5 separate regions of the Homo sapiens genome follow, and all the other regions are linked to region 4. Evidence: promoter capture Hi-C in human tissues and cell types (Jung and others, 2019). All regions are on one chromosome and are shown on one strand. The core of a region is centred on a gene start or on the middle of the fragment in contact, and the rest is flanking DNA. Distances in the headings are between cores, read along the strand shown. Region 1 holds the start of KRT33B (keratin 33B). Region 2 holds the start of KRTAP2-4 (keratin associated protein 2-4). Region 3 holds the start of KRTAP4-7 (keratin associated protein 4-7). Region 4 has its middle 11 kb from the start of KRTAP9-2. Region 5 holds the start of KRTAP1-1 (keratin associated protein 1-1).

Region 1 (2,700 bases), core at 171-2,670, 150 kb after region 4:
TGCCCTTGTTCATGCCTTTGCAAAAAGCTTCTTGCTGTACCCAGAATGCCCTCACCCACTAGCAAGACCCCTTGTGTAACCCACATACTTAATCAATAACACTTCTTATGACCTTTGTGTGATCATTTTGTTTCCACATCTATCTCCCCTGTTAGACTGTGAGCTCCTGAAGGAAGGAGACTGTCTTACTCAGTACATTATCCCCCACCCCAGCACTGTGCCTAACACTCTCCAACTCTGGGTAAATAAATGAATGATATTCAAATAGCACAACCCCTTTCTGGCATCTAATTTTCCAGATCTACAGAACAGTGGGCAGTCAATTCCCTCCCAGAATCAAGGGCTTGTACAATTGGATATAAACTCCCACTCATCCTTCAAACCCCACTCAGACATTGCCTCTTCTGGGATCCCTCCCAAACCTACACCAGGTATTCAGTCCCAATTCTCTGTGGACTCTTTACTTATATCTACTTCTCTTCCAGAACAGATGGCCCCATATTGTCATCTGTACACATGGCTGCTCTAGAGGATGGTCCATGTGTCTGTAGATATTGCTGGAGTCAACAGCTCTCTTGTGTTGCCATAAATGCTATATTTTGCTACAGCTTTGAAAGGCTTTAAATATTTGAAGATTTACTTAGGAAATTCTTAGCATAGAAAATAATTCAGGTGCATACTTTTTGAAAATGCGGTAATGCTCTGAAAACAAAACCAGGGTATCATAATCAAACCAAAAAATCAGATATTCTGGTTTGGAGTAAGACGCCATATAAGATTGCTATGACTGATTTTGGTCTAATGCTTCACTCTAACACCAGCCTGCATCCTTCCTTTGTGGCTCTACAACAGATTTTCTAAGACTACTTGATGTCATACCTAAGCCAGTGAATCTATGTCTTTATCATTCTCAGCATTACTGTGAACAGACTTAGATCCATTCACAGTTTAGTATGTCAAATATAGATAAGTAGTTCATTAAGCTGGCAGTGTGGTGCCCACCTCCTCACCTTCTGCTGGAGCTCCTCAATGGTCTTGAAGTAGGACTGGTAGCTGGGGCACAGCAAGGGCTCCTGCTGCTGAGACCGCTCCCGGATGAGGTTCTCCAGCTCCGCGTTGTCCCGCTCCAGCTGACGCACCTTCTCCAGGTAGCTGGCCAGGCGGTCGTTCAGGAACTGCATAGTCTCCTTCTCGCTGCCATTGAAGGAGCCCTCGCAGAACCAGTTGCAGTTGCTCACATTGGCAGGGATGTTGCAGGCCCCGGGCAGGGTGTAGCCGTGGCAGCTGGGGGGCACACAGGGCCGGGAGGAGCAGCTGGTGCGGCAGCTCAGGCTGGGCAGGCAGAAGTTGTAGGGCATGGTGCAGGGAGGCAGTGGAGCTCTGGAAGTCAGTTTCAAAACCTGATTCCTTTTCCCTGGGATAAGCCTTGGTCCTTTCCAGGGCTTTATATTCTGTTAGCAGTGGGTGTGGCAACCATGTCAAGTATTCCTCCTTTTTACCTCCTTTGCTGATTTTTCCATTTGTTATTTAGCCACTTCACCTGAGTCCTATACCTCATTAAATGTTTTACTCTGGCTTCTTGCTAAGTCAGGACTCCTCACAAAACATGCTGATTGGTTAAGTAAGAGCTTCATGGTTTGGCTTCAAAGTGACCAACCTTGCCTGTAGCAGTGCTTATCCATGGGACATTGAGCTAGAGTGACAGCTGGGCCCTGTCCCCAGAGTAGGGGGCACATATGTGCCTCTTTCTCCTAAATGAGGAAAGGCTTGTGTCTCATCCAGTTCATATTCAATTAAGACTCTGTGAGAAAAGCCATGTAAGGAAACCCGTCTAGAAACTAGACTATGTGATAGGGAATCCTGGAAGCTGAAATGAGAAAGGACTTACAAGGCCATTGGTTCAAGGCCCATTTGCAGTTCCATCCAGGCAGATGGAGGCAACTCTACCCTCTTCCTATGGGGCTGCAGGAAGCCACCCACCTCCGTTTCTACTAGTATTCAGTGTTCACAGAACATTAAGAAACCTAAATTTTGGGAGCACCTACTCTGCATGAAGCACTGTGCTCCATGCCTGTGCACAGCGTGACTCTGTCATTGGTGATGGGTCCTGCTTGCTGAGCCTCCACTGTGCACCAGGCACAGTGCCAGGCACCTCATATGCACCAGCTCCTTCAGTCCTCTCAAAATGCTGCAAGGGTTTGTAGATAAGGACCCTAAGCCTCTGAGAGGTCTCCCAAGGTCACAGAGCTCCTACATGATGGAGCCAGGGTTCAAATACAGATCTCTCTAATTCCAATGTCCACACTCTGTCATATTACATGTCTCTCTCTTCCAATCTTTTCAGTACTGAGATGCAATAATGCAAAAAATACAGATTGAGCTCCATTGAGCTCAATCAGTGCTGACAATATCCTAAATTAGAATGGGCCAAAAAATAACAAGCCTGTTTTTTACTTATTAAAGAACCAAAAGTCACTTCTATGCTGAAGGAAGGAAGTTTACTAAGTGAAAATGCCTCATACCCACTAGAAGCTTGAAAAAAAAAAAAAAAGGAAACCCTTGGTTGATCTGAGGGAGAAATACCCAAGCCTAGCTCTCCAAAGGATATGACCCTGAAAATCCACCACTATGTCATGTGCATGAAGTGGCATTTTATGACCATTGGCACATTTTGGCAAGCAGATGCTCTACTCTCATGCA
Region 2 (2,868 bases), core at 100-2,599, 150 kb before region 4:
GAGCTCAAATCCTGGTCTTCCTCTGAAATAATGGTCCTGAAATTCTAATGAATTACATGGAAGTGATAGAAAATAAACAGCCTTGGGCCCCACTCCCAGAGATTTTGATTCATTAGGTTTGGTTTGGGGCCTAAGAATGTGCATTTTAATAGGCAATTGCAAGAGATTCTATTGTGTATGACGCATGGGCCACACTTTGAAAAATGCTACTCTAGGAACTGTGGTAAGAAGATGAGATGCGCTGTGCTGGTCAGTTTACTACCAGTGGTCATTCTGGGCTTGGCATATGCTATTCCCACTTCTACCCCTCTTCATGAACATTGTCTTTCCTTTTGTCTATTCCATTAGACCATAAGCTTCTTGGATACAAGGCATGTAGCTTGTTCATCACTAATCAGGCAGCACCTGTCAACTGGAGGTCCCTTGATAAACAATTCCTGAATGACTGAATAGATGAGATTTCTATGGATAAGGTTTTGCTTAGGTTGAGCTTTGTTTCCCTTGTGCAGGTTCCAAAATCTTGCTTATCTGTGTACGCTAATAAACATGCACTAACGAACAAATCAGGGAGCAGGGCAGTCTGCTATGCCAGGAAAAATTAGTTTATTGACAACAGTGAGCAACACATTGCAAAAGATGATGGTGACAGTTTGAGCAGTAAAAACCATCAGGTTGTAGAATGTGTTTGCAAAGTCCACCCCAGGAATTCTTAAAGGTCGATTTACTATCCATAATGACTAAGGCTGATGTAGACACCTGAAAATGTGGGTGAGGGTGGTAATGGACGTCTGCTTACACCAGGCTGTATCCAGATGGTAAAAATCACTATTGTCACCTTGTGAAAAAAAATCTATTTTTCTTTTAACTTTTTAAAAACACCAGATAGATGTTTAGGCTTCAGTGTATTGCTCTGTGGGGGCATTGGGGTCTCAGCAGGAGGAGGTCCTGCAGGTGGTGCTGCAAGGGGTCGGCTGGCCGCAGGGGGGCCGGCAGCAGGGGGACTGCACAGACACAGGCTGGCAGCAGGTGGTGGCCCAGCAGCAGGGCCTGCACACCACAGCCGTGCACGACGAGGGGCAGCAGGTGATGGGGCGGCAGCAGCCTTCCTGCAGGGAGCAGGGGTCGCAGCACACCGGGCGGCGGCAGGGCTCGCAGATGGGGCGCGTGCAGCGGGGCACGCAGGTCACGGGGCGGCACACGGTGGTCTGGCAGGTCACGGGGCGGCAGCAGCAGGGGTCGCGGCAGCAGCAGGGCTGGCAGCAGCCTCCCCCGTAGCTCAGGGAGGACAAGGTGGAGCCGCAGCAGGAGCCGGTCATGGTGGTGTCTGAGGCTGGTGTGGGTTGGGCTATTGAGAGGAGCTGGATGTTCTCAGGTGTGAATGTCCTCCTCCCCCTCTGGGCCCTTTATATACCCTGGCTGGGAGCTGATGACCCTTCAACATATGATCATTTTCTTGTGCATCTTCTGGCCAATTAAGTGAAGATTTAGCATTGACTAATGGTATTTTGGTCACTCTTCACCTCATACATATTCATGTACATACACCACAAATATTCGCTCATTTTCTTGTATTGTTTATCCTCACTAAATTTAGACATTGGATTCACTTCTGATTAATTTTCCTTTGAAATATTCCTAACCCATAAGAGAGAAAAGAATGTGTTTTCTAAATTAGTGTCTAATCGCTCTGCCCTTTGGCGCTAAAATTAGCATGTTCTTCCTTGTCTTCAAAGGCTCCCATCACCGGCACCCAAGCAGTGACTTGCCTTATTAATGCACATGGGCATGATGGTAGCAGGTTAATTGCATCATCCTAGTGCAGACCAGTAGTCATCTGCTTCACAGATAGCTCCTTCCATGACTCACTTAAAGATAGGCTTGTGGTTTTTCATATGAGCAGGGACCACACGAAATGCAGATCCCTGGCCACTGGTGTGGTCACTCTCCCCTGACTAGGACCTGGGCTTTCCTGCCTTGGTTTTGATGTGTCATCATTCACCTGGAATGCCCTCCTCATCCTTCCAATCCAAACTCAACTTCTACCTTGATTGTAAAACCCTCTTCAAGGATCCATTGCAATTATTATATTTGTAATTTGTTTGGAATTAGTCGTTGCATCTGTAGAGTCCGGGAAGGGATTGCGGAGAATATGTAGGCCTATGCCCTCACTCTACAGCTGAGGTCCTGAGAGTGTACCAAGGTCACACAATGAGGTCACCATATGAGGTCTGAGATCCAGGTCTCCTCAGTCTGCAGTAAGTAGCCTCTACTATGAGTTTTATGCTCATTGGATTCAGTAAACCATGGTCTTTAGACAGGAAAGAAAACATATATTAAAGTAGAAGCCCAGACTTCATGCCACTATGCAATATATCCATGTAACAATGCTGCATTTGAACCTCTTACATTTATACATATTAAACACAGATTTAAAAAAATAAGTAATGAACTTTCCTTTCAGCAGCAAGGTTAGAAGTGGTACTGGAAGAGAATTAGGGAAATGTTTTGCCCAGATGACACATTGTCATCCTGGACCCCCATTGACTCCACTAAGTATGACAATGTGTCTGAGAGCTAGAGAAGGGACCTGGAGAAAGCTAACATGATGCAGGGTTTATTAGTGGAACTTACATACAAGGGTGGTCCAGTGGTGGTATCTGGACAGGAGAACTGCTATTATTTGTAAAAAGCATGCAGTTCACACAGTATTTTCATTAGAACCCTCCACCTAACAACCTCCATTTAATCCAAAACAAAGGGCCTCAATCCCCAGTATGACCTGTGTTCTAATGGATGAGGTGGGGATTCAAATGTCCTTCATAGATAAGGAGTGGATCTCCAAGTTGGCCACTCCCAGATCCTTAGCTC
Region 3 (2,700 bases), core at 56-2,555, 130 kb before region 4:
ACTGAGGAGGAAATATTTAACTGGGTTTTGACAAATGAGTAGGAGTTTGCAGAGTGGACAAAAAAAGACGACACATTCCAAGAAGATGAAGCAGTTTCAGCAAGCTTAGCAAATTTTGTTCTTTACCACTTTCTTGGCTACACTAAGACATATTAGGCTTACTTTCTCTTTAATCTTGGACAAGCATTTTGTTTGTTTGTTTTAGCTTTTTAATGCTTCTTTTGAGTATTCTGCTAAAAGAGCAATAAGAATGTACACTACTTTATAAGGTTGTAATAAAGAGTGAAAATGAAAAAGATATTTAGCACAATGTCTGGTACATAGTCAATACTTCACAAGTAATATACATACCCTGAGGATGTATGGAACTTATCCACATACTATACATTTTTATTTTAGTTGTTTAATGAACATAATTGTAATTCTTTTCATTTTTGCCAAATTCTGTTTCTTATGCATGTGTCTTATACAAGTACCTGCAGGAAAAAGAGGAGGGTTTATCTGTTCTATACCCAGAGTACCCAATAGAATGTCTTGGATGCATATTATTGAAGGCTTAATAATTCTAAATATTGTTTACATATAACAAATGCTTTTGTCAATGAATAATCCATCATGCAGTTTTGATGATCAAAGGTAAATCAAAACTTCCTACTCCAAATGCCTATACTGTAAGACATACAGAAAAATGTGTTTTTACTCATTAAAGGCAATGAGTCATGGCTAAGTACTTTCACTTGGAGTGGTGGAATGAGATCTGACACAGAGTTTATAACTTCCTTAAGATCTGACCATCTCCCCAACCATTCAAGAAGCATACACGGAATCAGAGTCATCTTCATTATAGATGGGACATCCTTCTCCCGAATGAGTCCTTCCTTCTAATTCCTTTCCAACATTTCATCTGACCAGGACATTATTTGACAACAAAAGACACATTAACATTATAAAAGTTGTCCCCCATGATTTGCAGAGAGCAATCTACAGGTAGGAGGGAGAATCACATTTAGAAATAAAGTGTCAGAGTCATGTGACCAGTGCTTTGTAAAAGACACTGCAGAGACCAGGGACAAAGGTGACCCCCACTAAGGAAGAAATATGACAAGTGTTTCCAATAGAAACACAGGAGCACAGCAGGAAAAGGAAATGGGTTATTTTCTCTCTTTTGGAGTATTTAAGTAGAAACACACAATTATGTAATTACATGATTAAGTTTTCCACGAGGTAAATAATAAGGAAATAATGACGTGGTGGCAATGGGCCTTCAGCAGGGTATAAAGGAGGCTATGGACCCAGAAGACTTCCAAACCCAAGAACTTCACTCTCTTGGAAACCCACCCAGATCCTCCCCGTTCTGACACCATGGTCAGCTCCTGTTGTGGCTCCGTGTGCTCTGACCAGGGCTGCAGCCAAGACCTCTGTCAGGAGACCTGCTGCCGCCCCAGCTGCTGTCAGACCACCTGTTGCAGGACCACCTGCTACCGCCCCAGCTGTTGTGTGTCCAGCTGCTGCAGGCCCCAGTGCTGCCAGTCTGTGTGCTGCCAACCCACCTGCTGTCGCCCCACCTGCTGTGAGACGACCTGCTGCCACCCTAGGTGCTGCATCTCCAGCTGCTGCCGCCCCAGCTGCTGTATGTCCAGCTGCTGCAAGCCCCAGTGCTGCCAGTCTGTGTGCTGCCAGCCCACCTGCTGCCGCCCCAGCTGCTGCCGCCCCTGCTGCTGCCTGCGTCCAGTCTGTGGCCGAGTCTCCTGCCACACCACTTGCTATCGCCCAACCTGTGTCATCTCCACCTGTCCCCGCCCCTTGTGCTGTGCCTCCTCTTGCTGCTGAGCCCACTGCCCTGGCTCACGTCCCCCTTCACCACTGGCCCACAGATGTAGACCCTTCTACTGTGCTGACCATTAGGATACATGAAGTGGGGTTGATGTCATTCAATAGGATGGACCTTATGCTTCCAAAGAGCCCACCACCATTTCACTGACTCTGTGAGAACATTCTGGTTCATTTTAAACTCCCTCCTTTGCTTTCTTTTTCTTCTGGTGGTGGCACCAAATGTGAATTAATTTGTAATACACTAGCTAAGAAATTATTCCAATCTTCTGATTTCCTTATTTTCTTTATCACTTTAAGGTACAGATTCTCCTTCTCAGTGAGGTAGATATTATCTGCAGGACCAGTTTTGTCACTGATGTTGCACCCTCAGATCCAGCCACCCAATTGTATTCTGTGTTTCTCCTAGGGTGAATTTCTTATGCTTTGTTGTATCTCTGCTTTCTAATAAACTTTTCTGCACTTAAGAATTCATTGGTATCATTCTCTATTGCTTTCATAATTATTTTACTGATTCCCTGGCAATTATATTTTACACAAAGACACAGGAGGAGCAACCCGTCTTGAAATCATTTTGAAGATACATTCTATATCAAATATAGATAATTTAAGGTATTGGAATAAAAGTGCTGTGTGTATATGTGTGTGTATGTGCACATGTGTCTTAATATTCTAAATTAAGACATTTAATTCATGCCTTAGCTCTTGAAACACATTTTATCATGAACACATTATATCTCACAATACTATTGTCCCTATTTTGACAAAAAACATAAAACCAAATTTCAGAAAAGTAGACACCAATGAAATAAGGGAAATCTTCTATAAAGAATTTAATGTACTCGAGTCATTTCACTCAATAAACAACAT
Region 4 (2,809 bases), core at 268-2,767:
CTCTGTATTATCTTCTTAGCAGAAAGGAGCATTGCTTTATTTATTTCCTAATAAAGCGTTTACTATAGTGCCTCCTGTGTTGTGTTTTGTTTTGTTTCAGTGATTGTTTTGCATCTCACATATATTATCTCATCTAAGTCACATAGAAGCCTCAAACTTGGACAGAACCAAGATGAGTAAAGTGGCCTGCATCGTGTCATGTAGCTAAGGATGGACAGAATTGGCTCTAGGCTCAGGGTTTCTGATTTCACCTCTACTGATGTCACATTTACAGAATTATACTAAGGACTTAGAACCGGGAAGGGGTGCACTCGAAGTTGTTCTCTGACAATGGAAACACCAATTCCACGCATTTGCAGACCATTTTCTACTAACAAAGTTCTTTCCAAATTCATTCCCCTAACCAATAGCCACATCTTAAGAGCAACAACTCGTTTTAAGAGCCCTCGTGAATCATGTGAACATTTTATATTCTCAGTCTCTTGTCAGGCACTGGTGAAGTTCTTTAAATATTTTTGAGCACCCATTGTGTTCCTGCCTCTGTCCTGGGACTTTGGTGTGAGAGGCTCATCTAGAAATACTTGTTTGTTGAAATAATGGAATTGGCATTCTGTTTGTCCTCATTCTTCTGGTCACCTAAATAAATGGTAATAGAAGATTAAGTCATGGCCCAAAAAACTTAGGCCACATTTCATTTGCACCCAAACTTTGAGAGATAATTTGTTTTCACATCAAAACTTTTTATTCCTGGCTTACTGTTTTTTTATTGTGGTAAAATACACATAAAATTTACAATTATAATCTTTATTTATTTATTTATTTTTGAGATGGAATTTTGCTCTGTCACCCAGGCTGGAGTGCAGTGGCACGTTCTCAGCTCACTGCAACCTCCGCCTTCCAGGTTCGAGCGATCCTCCTGCCTCAGCCTCCCGAGTAGCTGGGACTACAGGCATGTGCCACCATGCCTGGTTAATTTTTTGTAGTTTTAGTAGAGATGGGGTTTCACTATGTTGGCCAGATTGGTCTCAAATACCTTACCTCGTGATCCACCTGCCTCAGCCTCTCAAAGTGTTGGGATTACAGGTGTGAGCCACCGTGCCCAACCACAATTATAATCATTTTTACATATACAGTTCAGTGGAAGTAAGTACACTCATGTTGTTAGACAACCATCATCTGTCTCCAGAAATTTTAAAAAATTTTTTAAATTATTTATTTTTTATTTTATCAACTTTTATTTTAAGTTCTGGGATACGTGTGCAGGATGTGCAGGTTTGTTACATAGGTAAATGTGCCATGGTGGTTTGCTACACAGATCAACCCATCACCCAAGTATTAAGCCCAGAACCCATTAACTGTTCTTCCTGATGCCCTCCCTCTCATTGCCTGCAACAGGCCCCAGTATGTGTTGTTCTCCCACCCCAACGTTTGTCCATGTGTTCCCATCATTCAGCTCCCACTTATAAATGAAAACATGTCATTTTGGTTTTCTGTTCCTGTGTTAGTTTGCTGAGAATAACAGCTTCTAGCTCCATCCATGTCCCTACAAAGGACATGATCCAGTTCCTTTTTATGGCTGCATAGTATTCCATTGTGTACATGTATCATATTTTCTTTATCCAGTCTACTCTTGATGGGCATTTGGGTTGGTTCCATGTCTTTGCTATTGTGAGTAGTGCTGCAGTGAACATATGCATGCATGTATCTTTATGATAGAATGATTTCTATTCCTTTGGGTATATATCCAGTAAAGGGATTGCTGAATCAAATGGTATTTCTGGGGATGGTGCTATCTGGTCCAGCTACTATGCTTTTCTATGGTCTTCACAACTCACAGACCAGGAGATTCCCTCGGGTGCCTACACCACCACGGCCCTGGGCTTCAAGCACAAAACTGGGTGGCTGTTTGGGCAAACACCAAGCTAGCTGTAGGAGTTTTGTGTTTTTGTTTTGCTTTGTTGTTGTTGTTGTTGTTTTCATATCCTAGTGGTGCCTGGAATGCCAGCGGCACAAAACTGTTCACTACCCTGGAAAGGGGCTGAAGCCAGGGAGCCGAGTGGTCTTGTTCAGCAGATCCCACCCCCAAGGCACCCAACAAGCTAAAATTCACTGGCTTGAAATTCTCGCTGGCAGCACAGCAGTCTGAAGTCGACCTGGGACACTCGAGCTTGGTGCGGGGAGGGGCGCCCACCACTGCCAAAGCTTGAGTAGGCAGTTTTCCCCTCACAGTGTAAACAAAGTTGCCGGGAATTTCGAACTGGGTGCGGAACCACCTCAGCACAGCAAAGCCACTGTGGCCAGACTGCCGCTCTATATTCCTCCTGTCTCGGGAGGTCATCTCTGAAAGAAAGGCAGCAGCCCCATTCAGGGGCTTACAGATAAAACTCCCATCTCCCTGGGACAGAGCACCTGTGGGGTGGGGCAGCTGTGGGCACAGCTTCAGCAGCAGACTCAAACGTTCCTGCCTGCGGGCTCTGAAGAGATCGACTGTTCTCCCAGCACAGCGCTCAAGCTCTGCTAAGGGACAGACTGCCTCCTCAGGTGGGTCTCTGACCCACATGCCTCCTGACTCCTCCCAGCAGGGGTCAACAGACACCTCATAGCGGAGAGCTCCGGCTGGCATCTGGCAGGTGCCCCCTGGGACAAAGCTTCCAGAGGAAGGAGCAGGCAGCAATACCCAGGCAAACAGGGTCTGGAGTGGACCTTCAGCAAACTCCAGCAGACCTGCAGAAGAGGGGCCTGACTGTTAGAAGGAAAACTAACAAACAGAAAGCAACAGCATCAATATCAACAAAAAGGATGCCCACGC
Region 5 (2,718 bases), core at 94-2,593, 170 kb before region 4:
CCTTGAATGAAATGTGTATATTCGTTACATGCTATTACTCTGTAATCTTGTGTTTGTATTCTTTCACAATTTTTATTATGCTTTTGTATATCTTGGAGGACAGAAATAATTGTATACAACCTCATATATGAATGGATGAATGAATAGATTTGGCAAAACCTCAAGAAGCTGAATCAATCTGTTGGAATACCTAGCCCACCACTTTGCACATGAGAGGACCTTAGGAAACAGTTCCTAAATGTTGTCAAGTTCCTTTAATCATATGTCTTGGCTGCAAAATATTGGACCATTTAATGGTAAAACAAAGGAAAATTGCTGTTAAATATCATCATTAAAAGAGCAAAAGTACAGAAAAACCATAGTGTCATGTCATGTTGATATTTTGAAAAATCCCAGTACCCCAATATTGTTAATAAATTCCAAAGCAAAGAAAGTTCAAACAACAACTTCATCATTGAAGAGATGAAAACTTTTATTAAATTTAAGTCCCAATAACTGTTGAAATATTTCAGGTGATATTTATAGTAAAATAGTATCTAACTCTTTTCACATTGTAGGACTTTGGCTGACAACCAGGTCTAGGAAAAATTTTTGGTCTTCCATTGTAAATGAATTTACTTCCTAGGGAATTTATGTGGCTGTGTGATGAGAGGTTGCAAGCCCAGTTATAGGTACTGGAGTTCAGAAGATTGTTAGGATTCTAATTTGGCTAGTTTTAAGGTGCCATCTTATCAGGATCCCCAGCAGAAGGAGGTTTTCAACAAGTGGGCTCAGAGCAGTAGCAGCAGCAGACTGGGCGGCAACAGGACTGTCCACAGTAGGATGGGCGGCAGCAGGAGGCCTCGGCGTGGTGCAGCTGGCAGCAGGATGGGGGTGTGCAGCTCACCACGCAGCAGGGGGGCAGGCAGGTACCCTCCACACGGCAGTCTGGGCGGCACCACCTGATACGGGTGCTCACAGCTCCACTGCTGCCCTCCTGGCCATAGCCAATGCCACCACCAATGCCACAGCCAGTTCCGCAGGAGCTGGTCTGGTAGCAGCTTGGCTGGCAGCAGCTAGTTTCACAGCAGCTTGGCTGGCAGCAGCTAGAGTCACAAGTCCCACCGGTTGAGAAGCTAGGAAATCCACAGAAGCTGGTCTGGCAGCAGCTTGGCTGGCAGCAGCTGGTCTCACAGCAGCGTGGCTGGCAGGAGCTGGTCTCACAGCAGCTTGGCTGGCAGCAGCTGGAGCCGCAGGTCCCACTGGTGGAGCAGCTGGGAAATCCACAGAAGCTGGTCTGACAGCAGGCCATGGTGTCAGGAGTTGATCTGAAGGTTGGGTTGCTTGGAGGAGTTTCTGAATTATGGCTGCCTATTCCACTGCCGGCTTTTTATAAGTCTGGGCCAATTCCTCTATTTGTGGCGAGCAACATTTTTATCTTGTTACTCTTTAAACCAGCCTTTCTAGGGCCCTCTGATGGTTCAAATGCTGAATTGTTTTAAATATATCTCAAAATTGATTTTTCCTTATTGCTCAGCTAATACTCACCAAATGTGTTTGTCCTTGGTAAAAATGTTAACATTTTGTTTACAAACAATGGTATAATTTCCACTTGAGCTTCAGCTTCAGGTTTGCACTTGTGGGTATATCACCTGACAAAGTGACTCTCACCCATAAGGTGATGTGATTTTGGAGATCATATTCACCAAACCTCAGGTCTCCAGAAAAGAATTATTAATCATGATTGCCCTTATGTAAGACTGCTTTGTATTTTTTAGACTAATAAGATTATCCTCTCTCGATATAATCTTATTAGCCAGATAGAAACTCTGATAAACTCTATATTCATAGAAATTCATAGATTTTTCCCTGAAATGGAATCTTTCCAATTTCTGTGATATCTCCTGAACTTCACATTCATATTTTAGGAAACATTGATCACTCAGGAGGATATATAAAACAAAACCTGTTCAATTTCAATGTCTCTTAAAAAAGAGGCTAAAATTCATATTCAGTAATTGGAAAAAATTGCAAAATATTTTAACAAAATTTACACTTCTCTATGAAAGACAAAAATCACTTGTATATGGATTATCTGGCATATAATTTTTCAAAGGCAGAATTTAATTTTAATTTATGTCATTTCAAGTTACTAAACCATGTGTCCTGTGAAAAGATATTAGACCAAAGAGCATGACAACTGAATTTAGGAAAGGGAATAAATCAAAGAAAAAGCAAGAGTTAGAAAATACTTTTATCTGCTTTATAAGGCAGGTTAGAAAATGGGTGACCAAATATAGTTCAAGAGGTGTAGTATAATAAATGCAAAGAGATTAAGAAAAATTTCAGCAAAATAAAAGTTAAAACAATTCCTGGTCATTGCCAGAAGAAAGAATGTAATTTTCACTGGGAGTTTAGGGTTACGTGAGATAAATGAAAAAAGGCTGGTCAAAAACATATTATTTCTACTTGGGGTAGGTTTATTTCTCCCTTCCAATCATGAATAGAAACACATAGTTAGCTTTTTATGAGGTGGTGGCATTTGTTTGTACAGGAATGGGGTTATATCACAATGTGATTCATGCCAGCTTCAGTAAAGATGTTCACGTCATATGGTAACCATGACTGTAGGTATGAAGTTGAAAATGGTTATATGTAATCAATGAATGTTGGAGATCAAAAATGTAGTAAATTATCTTGTTCCACCACTTAATTTTATAGGTGTAGAAACTGACATCA

What was found. The method cuts DNA at HindIII sites, captures the fragments that hold promoters and counts their contacts. A contact is called where the count stands out against the background at its distance.
Region 1: a contact is called between the fragment with the promoter of KRT33B here and a fragment that was not itself captured in region 4, in 7 of the 25 tissues and cell types used here (H1 embryonic stem cells, bladder, lymphoblastoid cells and 4 more).
Region 2: a contact is called between the fragment with the promoter of KRTAP2-4 here and a fragment that was not itself captured in region 4, in 5 of the 25 tissues and cell types used here (adrenal gland, aorta, bladder and 2 more).
Region 3: the fragment with the promoter of KRTAP4-7 here is called in contact with a fragment that was not itself captured in region 4 in 3 of the 25 tissues and cell types used here (IMR-90 fibroblasts, aorta and dorsolateral prefrontal cortex).
Region 5: the fragment with the promoter of KRTAP1-1 here is called in contact with a fragment that was not itself captured in region 4 in 7 of the 25 tissues and cell types used here (IMR-90 fibroblasts, dorsolateral prefrontal cortex, liver and 4 more).

The regions. Positions count from the first base shown.
Region 1 is chr17:41,368,393-41,371,092 of GRCh38, forward strand. KRT33B (keratin 33B) reads right to left here and starts at 1,421. Exons shown (of 7, transcript NM_002279.5): 1 at 1,011-1,421. The coding sequence starts at 1,358. The HindIII fragment of the contact is 10,508 bases long and covers 1-2,700 here.
Region 2 is chr17:41,064,530-41,067,397 of GRCh38, forward strand. It overlaps KRTAP2-4 (keratin associated protein 2-4), which reads right to left and starts at 1,350. Exons shown (of 1, transcript NM_033184.4): 1 at 587-1,350. The coding sequence starts at 1,316. The coding sequence ends at 930. RefSeq lists enhancers at 546-1,083, 1,084-1,620. The HindIII fragment of the contact is 9,926 bases long and covers 1-2,868 here.
Region 3 is chr17:41,082,845-41,085,544 of GRCh38, forward strand. It overlaps KRTAP4-7 (keratin associated protein 4-7), which reads left to right and starts at 1,306. Exons shown (of 1, transcript NM_033061.4): 1 at 1,306-2,300. The coding sequence starts at 1,363. The coding sequence ends at 1,830. RefSeq lists an enhancer at 1,601-2,130. The HindIII fragment of the contact is 7,861 bases long and covers 1-2,700 here.
Region 4 is chr17:41,214,304-41,217,112 of GRCh38, forward strand. No RefSeq gene overlaps it. Among named protein-coding and RNA genes, the nearest start is that of KRTAP9-2, 11 kb to the right of the region's middle. The HindIII fragment of the contact is 7,634 bases long and covers 1-2,809 here.
Region 5 is chr17:41,040,107-41,042,824 of GRCh38, forward strand. It overlaps KRTAP1-1 (keratin associated protein 1-1), which reads right to left and starts at 1,344. Exons shown (of 1, transcript NM_030967.3): 1 at 435-1,344. The coding sequence starts at 1,291. The coding sequence ends at 758. The HindIII fragment of the contact is 12,161 bases long and covers 1-2,718 here.